2 separate regions of the Homo sapiens genome follow, and region 2 is linked to region 1. The links are contacts of gene promoters, found by promoter capture Hi-C in blood cells and fetal thymus (Javierre and others, 2016). All regions are on one chromosome and are shown on one strand. The core of a region is centred on a gene start or on the middle of the fragment in contact, and the rest is flanking DNA. Distances in the headings are between cores, read along the strand shown.

Region 1 (5,078 bases), core at 961-3,460:
TGTTGGGATTACAGACATGAGCCACTGTGCCTAGCCACAGAACTTTGTTTTAACAAGTTTGTCACCAGAACACAAGCACCATAAGCTCCACAATGTAGCCTTTAGACACATATACTCATGATCTACAGACATATATATTCATAATCTACAAATGAGACCTGATAATAGAACTACTGGGTGTTAGATACACACTGAAGGTCAAACATGAATACCACCACCACCGATATTTCCCTGAAGATATCTGAACCCAGCAAGGACTGTTGGCCACTGATTCCTGCGGATCCAGAAGTTTTTTGTTGTTTTTTTTCAGAGACAGGGTCTATCTCTATCACCCAGGCTGGGGTGCAGTGGCGGATCAGAGCTCACTGCAGCCTGAAATTCCAGGGCTCAAGCAATTCTCCTGCCTTAGTATCAGCAGCTGGGACTATAGGCACATACTACCACACTAGGCTAATTTTTTTTTTTTAAGAGCTGGGGTCTCACTGTATTGCCCAGGCTGATCTTGAACTCCTGGGCTCGTCATCCTCTTGCCTTGGCCTCCCAAAGTGCTGGGATTATAGGGGTGAGTCACTGTACTTGGCCAGATTGTTATTATTTTTTAAACTGGATTCCACTAAAAAAACCTACAGTCAGAAGACTAGTAAGTCATTATTTGAGAAAACTGGTCTTAACCTAGACACAGTAGTTTTGTGTGAATTTTTGGTTGGAATCATGACAGTATCTTGGAGTTAAGTGTAAATACACATGTATTCTCCTTGACTTTCATTGACAACTTAGAAACAACTATTTTGGAACTGGAAAAAACTCCTTGCAGGTACTCTCAGAAAATTAATTTTCCTAAGGAGCCAGCCTCAGTGGCTCATGCCTGTAATCTCAGCACTTCTTGAGGCCCCAGTGGGAAGATCGCTTCAGCCCAGGAGTCTGAGACCATCTTGGGCAACATAGCAAGACGCTGTCTCTACAAAAAATAAAAAATATTAGCCAGGCATGACGGTGCATGCCTGTAGTCCCAGCTACTCGGGAGGCTTAGGTAGGAGGATCACTTGAGTCCTGGAGGTCAAGGCTGCAGTTGCCGTGATCATGCCACTGCACTCCAGCCTGGGTGACAGAGTGAGACCCTTATCTCAAAAAATAATAATAATAAAATTTTTTTCCCCTAAGGTTTCCCAATGACTTCGGTAACATAAATATATGTTGTCCTGTATTCTCTCTTGTACTCCCAGTATCAATATCTGGCATGAAGCAACAATGCTAATGCTCAGAAAATCTGTTAAAATATGCATGCTCATCTTTACACAGCACATACTCTGATTTTGTTAAACTATCATTCCACTATCAACTCTGGTATTCATTTCTAGGGCAGAGTATATAGCACAAGAATCCTTGCGTAGGCAATTAGTAGCAATGGGAAACTGATCCTTATTTAGTAAATGTTTACTGAGCTCCTAAATAGTACCAGCGACTCTTCTGGGCACTGGGAATTCAAGTATGAACAAGTCTAACAAATTCCTTGTCCTCAGAGATTGTAATGTGAGAAGAGAAAAAAACACATTAAAAAGATGTCTGGCAGTGTTAAGGGATATGCAGAAAACTAGACAGTAAAATGATAGTGTGTATGTCTGTGGAGGGTGTGCCTTGAGCTGCAGTGTCAAGGAAGGCCTCTCTAACGCGACAGGTGATCTTAGGGCAGAATTTCTCTAGACATTCTCTGTATCCAAATAACTGTTCTATTTTTATCACAGAGTAGACTGGACTAACGCCGAAAGCCGGGGCGTGGTGAACCAGCCGCCCTACCTGCAATGTGCGGCCTGGTAGGATACTGTTCCAGAAGTAGCTTGGGCTTTTCAAATCCATCCACTTGTTGCAGGCGACTCTCTAGTTCCTTAAGCCTTACTTTCTTCATTTTGTTTTAAAGTATGGACTCGTAGGGTTTGAAGGCACAGGATCTGCGGAGAAATCTATTGAACTGGGATCTTGTTTCCTCCCTACCCCCAACCTTCTCCCTTTTTCAGCACCGCTGGCCGGACCCGAAGACGCGCCCTAAGGAGACGCCCGGACGCAGGGCACGGGGCGAGCCTCTGACCCACCTCCCGGCTAACCCAAGCCGCCCCAGGAGACGGCGGCGGCGCACTGCTGGAGCAGCCTCAGGATCCCTCGCGCCACGACCACGCACCTCTGGAGGCGACCCGCACCTCGGCCGGTGCCGGAAGCGCCAGGCCGCACGCGCGCACGCGTTCGCCGCCCAGCGGCCCGGCGCCGAGCTGCAGCGTTTATCTTGAGCCGGGGTTCCGCTGGCCACCTGGGGGCCTCATTGCCCCATCCCCTCCGCCTGCAAAGCCTGCGCTACTTGCTGACCCACCGCCAGTCCTCGCCGCCTGTCGCGTGCTCATTACCCTCTAGTTTGCCATGAGTACCTGCGGGCCCTCAAAGGATGGGGAAAGACAGAGTGAAAGGGATGCGGGAGAGAAAGTCACAGTCACTTTGTTGTATGGCCCAGAGTGACTCTTCTTGTTTCCCAAGTCTCGGCTCAAAAAGTAGCGATCTCCATTCACCTTTACCTCCTTCTCCATTCTCATGCCTTATTTTATTGTAACTTTGTTTCCCAATTTTTAGGTCATTTGTGTCACTTGCAATTCTCACAGGAGTGGTGATGTCAAAGAAACCCAAAGAAGAGATAGTGGAGAGGCAGGGCGCGGCGGCTCACGCCTGTAATCCCAGCACTTTGGGAGGCCGAGGTGGGTGGATCACGAGGTCAGGAGATTGAGACCATCCTGGCTAACACGGTGAAACCCTGTCCCTACTAAAATTACAAAAAAATTAGCCGGGCTTGGTGGCGGGCGCCTGTAGTCCCAGTTACTCGGGAGGCTGAGGCAGGAGAATGGCGTGAACCCGGAAGGCGGAGCTTGTAGTGAGCCGAGATCAAGCTACTGCACTCCAGCCTGGGAGACAGAGCGAGACTCCGTCTCAAAAAAAAAAAGACAGTGGAAATGAAAATAAAAGAATAGGTAGTGGTGTCAAATACTGGAAAGAGGTCGGGCTTCATAAAGTAGGAGCAGAAATTAAGTTGTAGCAGATTGTGGAGCGAATGGAAATTTAGGAAGAAGAAAGAGTAAATGTGAACAATTAAACGTGGCCCCGGAAGCGGTGGCTCACCCCTGTGATCCCAACATTTTGGGAGGCCGAGATGGGCGGATTGCTTGAGACGGGAGTTTGAGACCAGCCTGGGCAACATAAGGAGACCCTGTCTCTACTAAAAATACAAAAATTAGCTGGGTCTGATGACGCGAGCCTGTGGTCCCAGCTGCTCGGGTGGCTGGGGTGGGAAAATCGCTTGAGCCCGGGAGGCAAAGCTTCCAGTGATCTGAAATTGCGCCACTGCACTCCAGTCTGGTCGACAGTGAGACCCTGTCTCAAAAAAAAAAAAAAAAAAAAGAAAGAAGAAAAGAAAGAGAAAGAGAAAGGTGGCCTACGAAAAGAATGGTTGGATGCTTAGTAATGGGGGAAGCTTTATTATTTTTTCAATTATTTTTAAGACAGGAGGAGACAAATTCTGACAAGAATTGAGCTAATAGAAAGAGAGGGGTTAAAAATGCAAGAGGATATTGGATGGAGTTGGGATCCTGAGAAGGCAGGATCCAGTGGTTAAGTAAAAGGATTGCAGGATTGCGTTTAAGCCTGTGGATGGACACCTCTTTGCATTATTATAGGAAGAAGAAAAAGAGTGAATGGACGATGACGAAGTAGAGAAGTGTCTGAGGCTGCTACTTCTAGGAATAGCAGAATTCAAAGTTATCTGTTATGAGAATCAAATGAGTTAAAACATACAAAGTTTTAGCATGTAAAGTTAATACATAAAGTTTTATTTAGTTTATAATTTAGTGATTCGTAAAATTATTGAGCAAATTTAACTTATCACTGTTATATGATGATCGTGACATACTTAACTCATGTAGAAGACCAGGAATAACCTGTTTTAATTATGTTTCATTCATTTCAAACACAAGGTTATGGATTGGAAACACTCCTGTTCTTCTTTGTTGTTGTTGTTGTTGTTGTTGTTTTTAGAGACGGAGTCTCGCTTTGTCACCCAGGCTGGAGTGCAGTGGCGCGATCTCGGCTCACTACAACCCCCGCCTCCTGGGTTCAAGTGATTCTCCTGCCTCAGCCTCCGGAGTAGCTGGGATTACAGGCGTGCGCCACCATGCCCGGCTAATTTTTGTATTTTTAGTAGAGACAGGGTTTCACCATGTCAGCCAGGCTGATCTCAAACTCCTCACCTCAAGTAATCCGCCTGCCTCGGCCTCCCAAAGTGCTGGGATTACAGGCGTGAGCCACCGCGCCTGGCCTTCTGTTCTTCTTTGGATTGCTTTTCCTACAGTTTTTGTTTTCCTTAAGTTGGGGTTTCATTCTGTCGCCCGCTGGACTTTGATAACAGTAGGAATGTACATCTCAGACAAAATGCAGATGCCTAAAGTACATCTGAAAGATGATGTGAATAATTCCTGTAGTCTATGCAAATAAAGAAATAATTGCCCTTATTAAAGATTTCCTATAAGGTGAGTACTTTATTTCAGTAGCTCTTAACTTAGAAAGTTGGGAGCCTAGCTTGGTCCACAGGCGCCCAGGAGAGAGGGGCGGGAGGAAGGCTCTGCAGCCCGAGGGGGCGTGTGTAGGGGCGGGGCTGCGGGCGGAGGAGCGCGGACGCTCCGGGTATCGCGAGAGTTGGGCGGGCCGAGCAATCGCAGCAGTCTATTCCCTCACTCTCCCTGGAGGAGCCGCTGGCCCTGGACTCTCCAAATTCTGAGCTCTCATCATGGCGGCGGCGGCCGCGGCGGCCGTCGGGGGCCAGCAGCCGTCACAGCCCGAGCTGCCCGCGCCGGGGCTGGCCCTAGACAAGGCGGCCACCGCCGCGCACCTCAAGGCGGCCCTCAGCCGGCCGGACAACCGCGCAGGTGCTGAGGAGCTGCAGGCGCTGCTGGAGCGGGTGCTGAGCGCCGAGCGGCCGCTGGCCGCGGCTGCCGGCGGCGAGGACGCGGCGGCGGCCGGAGGCGGGGGCGGTCCGGGGGCGGCCGAGGAGG
Region 2 (4,923 bases), core at 1,982-4,481, 710 kb before region 1:
AACACATCATTTCAATTTGGCTTTTTAAAGTATTGAAAATAACTTGAAGAACTCCAATTCTGCTTTTTAAGTCTGGAGATTCCATGTTGGAAATGACGAGATGGAATGACCTCTAAGCTCTCATCTGTTTCTGAAATTTCACAATCCAGTGGTTTCTTTTGCAAAGCTGACTGGGGAGATTCTGTGAAGGCTGGGCACTAGACAGTGTTCTTCCCCGCAGAAGCAGTTCACAGGGAGTCGAGGATGCTCAGGTGCCATCTGACTCCAGACACGGTGATCCTCAAGGCCAGGTAGCTTAACTGCACTCATAATGCAGAGACTCCTAGGCAACAAAACTTTTTTCCCCTTGCTGGTGAAAAGTCAACTTCCTGTGCCATTGCTAACCTACACCCTTTCTACTCAGTTAGTGTACAGATTATAGAAGTGTGTGACTTTCTTTTCACCCTCTCATTCAGAGAAAGATGCTTGGATATGTCCCTTTATGAAGTTAAGCATTAGTTTTGTAAGACTTCGCAAATGTTCTGGAAAGCTATGCATGTAGCTGTAAAGATGGGAGGAAGGGAGGATAGGGCAAAAAGAAGGGCTGAATTGTGGTGCAATTGCCATGGAGGCCTCAATCAATCCCATAGGACACTCTGAAGCTGGGAATGATCCTTCCGAGTTGTCCCAAACTGACATGAAGATCAAGCCATTGGCTCACCACATCAGCCTGACCTTGGCCTTGATTGCCCTCGTAGCCTAGAGTGAGGCAGCATCCTGGCTGAGGGCAAGTCCATCGAGGAGCACAGCTGTGAGCTCTCCGCAGCTGGGAGATGGGAACACAGGCCCTGGTGAGGAATCCAGAAGGAGCATCATGGTATGTCTCTAAATTTCATCTGATGCTGCTATCACGTTCTAGCATGCTTGATTTGTGAGAATTGAACAGAACAATTTGCCGAGCCAGGACTGTGTTGTATTTAGCAAAGGATGAATTAACCTACAAATAAAAATGACCTGGCCCTCCATGAACCAGGTTTTCTAACAGGGCAACCACTCCAAAAAGTAAGTACTAGAGGAGTGATGCCACCACAGGCTTGGGAGTAAAAGTCCCTCAGAATTTCCAACTGTTGGAAGAACTGGAACAAGGTTAGAAAGGAGTAGGTGATGGCACAGGTGGCTGGGGTGTAGAAGACGATGAAGACATGATACTTACAAGATGGACAGAGATGGTAACTGGGCCTCCAAGAACAACTGATGAAAACCGAATATACAGCCTTAAAATAAAATGTGGACCTAAATACCCAGAAGGACCCCACTTTGTAAGATTTTTCACAAAAATTAATATGAATGGAGTTAAGAGTTCTAATGGAGTGGTAGACCAAGAGCCATATCAGTGCTAGCAAAATGGCAGAATTCATAGAGCATCAAAGTGGTTCTGCTGGTGTGAGTTGACTGAAGGATACAAAATAAATTTAAAAAATAAGAGATACAAAGTTGTTCTGCAAGAGCTTTAGCACCTAATGATGTCTAAAGAAAATATGAAACTCCCTCAGCCACCTGAAGGACACTGTTACAGCAGTTAATCAAAAAGTAAAACCACAGGGCCTTCACCTTTTCCCTCATTCAACTGAAGCAGTCTTCATTTTCCACAGTAGTAAATTTTCTAGGTACATCTTGTAGACCTGAAAGTACTGGAAAGAAAGCTTCCATTCAAAGGAAATTTATCTTAAGATATTGTAAATGATACTAATTTTTTTGTCCATTTGAAATATATAAGTTGTGCTATAATAAATCATCATGTCAAGTGTAAATACTGTCCACGTAGTTGAGCTTCTGGCATCAAGAAAATCTATTTAAATTGATTCCTGTCATAACTGGTGGGACACATCTAACTCAGCTGTAAAAAGACACATCACACAATCACCTTGTTGCTGATGACATGGCCTGGGGTCTCTGCCTTCTCCCACTTCCCCTCCCTCTCCCCTCTCTGCAACAGCCCTCTAGCCTGAGGGCTGCTTGTTAGAGTAGACGTGATGATTTAGGGTTGCAGCCTGTGGAACTACTGCTGGGTATGTGAGGAGCTTTGCCTGCATCCCTGGTCTTTTTCTTTAAGCCTTAAATGATGCCGCTTCCAAGCCATCCTCTTGTCCCCACACTCCTCCATTCCCACCCTTGGCCAGAGCATAGATTGTAATCCCTCCGCTCGCCTGTGGTGAAGAATTCAGGGATTTCCCCATATCTTCTCTCCCCCACTTTATCGAGGGGTGCTGTTTTTTCCTCCCCCTCCTCAAGTCCCTTTTTGCACTGTCACCACCCAATACTTTCCATGACATTTCCTTGCTTTGGCCAGAAGCCAGGTAAAGTTGGAACAAGTCTCTGACCTCCCTGGTTTAGTTTTGGAACTGCATTTATTCACTTGCCACCAGCCTGGGAAGTAAATATTAGGTCCTCAGCCCTGCCACCCTCTGCTATCATCATCAGCTGATGAGTTTTTTTGGCTCAGATTTCGATAAGCTGAAAAGAACAGTCAACCAGGGTTACTCAGACCTGCCAGCTCTCAGAGTCTTTGGTGGCTAAACTTGGAGAAAGACCTCATGAAGACACTTGTAAGCACACATGATCCCTCTGAATTATTTTCTTTTGCTTTCATTTCTTCTTCAACTTTTAAAAATTGAAGAAGTTTTAAACAGGGCTCTCATCTGGTCATCCTTGCAATCCACTGGGGTCTCGTTTGGAATCTGGCAGCTGGAACATAAAGACCCTTGAATTCAGCGCATCCTTTGGTTTTGGTGGTGCTGCGTCTCAAAATCCTCAGCAGGGATTAAGAAAGCACTCAGTGTGCGCAGCAGATCCTGGAAATTGGTGGGCTTGACTTCTGGCAAAGTGCTGCATTTTTCCACTTTCTGTTCAGGACCACTAAATGCTGAAATGTGGATGCATACCAAAATAAAAGAAATTCATTGTGTACTGAAATAAAACAAAAAGCAGCCCTAGAGGAAGGTTTCCTAACACTCCTATCTCTCTCTCTCCTCCCACCACTTACCTTCTTTCTTTATCTTTTCCTCTGCTCTGTTAGTTTTATTCTTGAGCTCAGCTGTCAGAGGCAGCCTTTGATGGATGTGTGGTTGGTCCTTTCAGGCCCCCTGGAAAAGAAGGCTGAGGGGACAGGGAGGGATGAGGCTTGGATGATAAGTGAGGAAAGGAAGGGGGGAACTTAGAAGGATGGAGGGATGGGAAGGAGGGGAAGTCCTCTTTTTGAGTCAATAGAGTCAGAATCCTTTTCCTGACCAGAAGCACACATGTGATGGCTGTTTTAAGTGGAAGGAAATGACCCAGTCTTCTGAGGATACAGAATTTAAAGCTGAGTGAGGTGGTACCCAAAGTTCTGTATTGCAGAAAGGGAGGCATTCTGATCTTGCAGATGAAAGAGACATTTCTCTGATATCAAACATTAGCACAGGAAATGTGTCCTGGGTTGTTTCCATTTGTCTCTACAGACCAATTTATCACCTGAAGAATTAAACTTACATTCAATGCTAGAAAGGTCAGGGGTGGTTGAAATTGTACTGGCCCTGACTTCATGAGCTGGCTTTTCAGACCTCATAGGAACCTTGCCCATACCCCTTTAGATGGTCTCTACTTGCTTCTTCAACTCATTGACTAGTGAGCATTGCATGGCTCATGCTGGAATGCAAAGGGGAATTTATTTGTTTTCTTTTTGTGTGTGTGTAAAGTATACCAGTTATTCAGATTCCAGGGAATAGCCATTGAAGAAATCTATTCTAAATGTTTTATTTCAAGACCGACTTATTTATACAATTGTTACCAGATGGAAGGTCTTGACTGTGAGTTGTCCAGGTTCTTAGCACTTTGAACAAAGAACTGAACAAAATGCACAAAGCGACAAAAGAACGAAGTAACAAAAGCACAGATTTATTAAAGCAAAAGTACTTTTCACAGAGTAGGAGCCTGTAGGAGCTCTTGTAGGAGCGGGCTCCAGCAAGTGGTTCAAGAGCTTCCCCTCCCATTAAGATTTTTATTAAGATATTTATTAATTTTTATTTAGTTTGGTAACACCCCTAGGTGCCCTTTAGAGGCCTCCAGTTGGTCACACCCTATGAAGGATTGGCCTGTGACCAATCAGTGGCTGAAGTGGAGACTTGGCTCATGGTCAATTAGAGGCTGAAGTGGAAACTTCTGTCTTGTTATCTCAGGAGCTAGGATGTATGCTGTATGCTGCTTAATGTTGCCTAGAACTGGCTGCACCTGCTGTTCTTTTGCTTCTGCCTTAACCCTTGGTTACCCTAATTCCCAATTCTCCTGCCTCACAATGACTCACACGTTTGACAGTTACCCTTTCTCTTTCAAGGAGGCATGAGAAAACCTCTAATTAGATCCATGGAGGCTGTGGTCACAAAGAAAGCCCCCAATTCACACACAACCCGTGATTCTCAGCCTTCCTGCCCATCTTCACCCTTCCCTCAGCTTGGGGGATATCTAGGATCTCTTGAGAATCTATAAACTAAGAAGACAAAGGGGAAGAAGTTGAGGAAATCAAGAACAAGTTGGGACCACTAAGCCTACCTTTTTGACCCCATCTGTGGTGGGGGCTGGGAGTTGTGGAGTTCTGGCTCCCAGGTGATCAGGCCTTGTGGTAAGGACAAGGTCTCTGATTGTAGGGAGCCTGGCGTGGAGTCCTAGTCTCATGACTTAACCTGCTATATTCTTGGGGTATGTTATTTAATCTCTTGGCACCTAAGTTATTTTACTGAATAAAATGGAGATATGATAGTACTAGCTCTCAAGCTTAGTATGAGAACTAAAGGAAATAATGCATTCAAATGCAAGCCCCACGAGATTAGGGATGTTTATTTCATTTGCACTATAACCCCTGATGCCCACACCAGTATTCTTGGTGCTCAAATATTTGTTGAGTGAATGATG

What was found. The method cuts DNA at HindIII sites, captures the fragments that hold promoters and counts their contacts. A CHiCAGO score of 5 or more calls a contact.
Region 2: a contact is called between a fragment that was not itself captured here and the fragment with the promoter of METTL5 in region 1, in 1 of 17 cell types (neutrophils). The highest score is 5.5, in neutrophils.

Annotation. Positions count from the first base shown.
Region 1 is chr2:169,822,695-169,827,772 of GRCh38, forward strand. It overlaps METTL5 (methyltransferase 5, N6-adenosine), which reads right to left and starts at 2,211. Exons shown (of 7, transcript NM_014168.4): 1 at 1,795-2,211. The coding sequence starts at 1,903. UBR3 (ubiquitin protein ligase E3 component n-recognin 3) reads left to right here and starts at 4,760. Exons shown (of 39, transcript NM_172070.4): 1 at 4,760-5,078. The coding sequence starts at 4,814. RefSeq lists silencers at 2,757-2,960, 4,554-5,078. The HindIII fragment of the contact is 10,424 bases long and covers 1-3,348 here.
Region 2 is chr2:169,114,119-169,119,041 of GRCh38, forward strand. It overlaps the pseudogene UBE2V1P6. Among named protein-coding and RNA genes, the nearest start is that of DHRS9, 47 kb to the left of the region's middle. The HindIII fragment of the contact is 3,103 bases long and covers 1,681-4,783 here.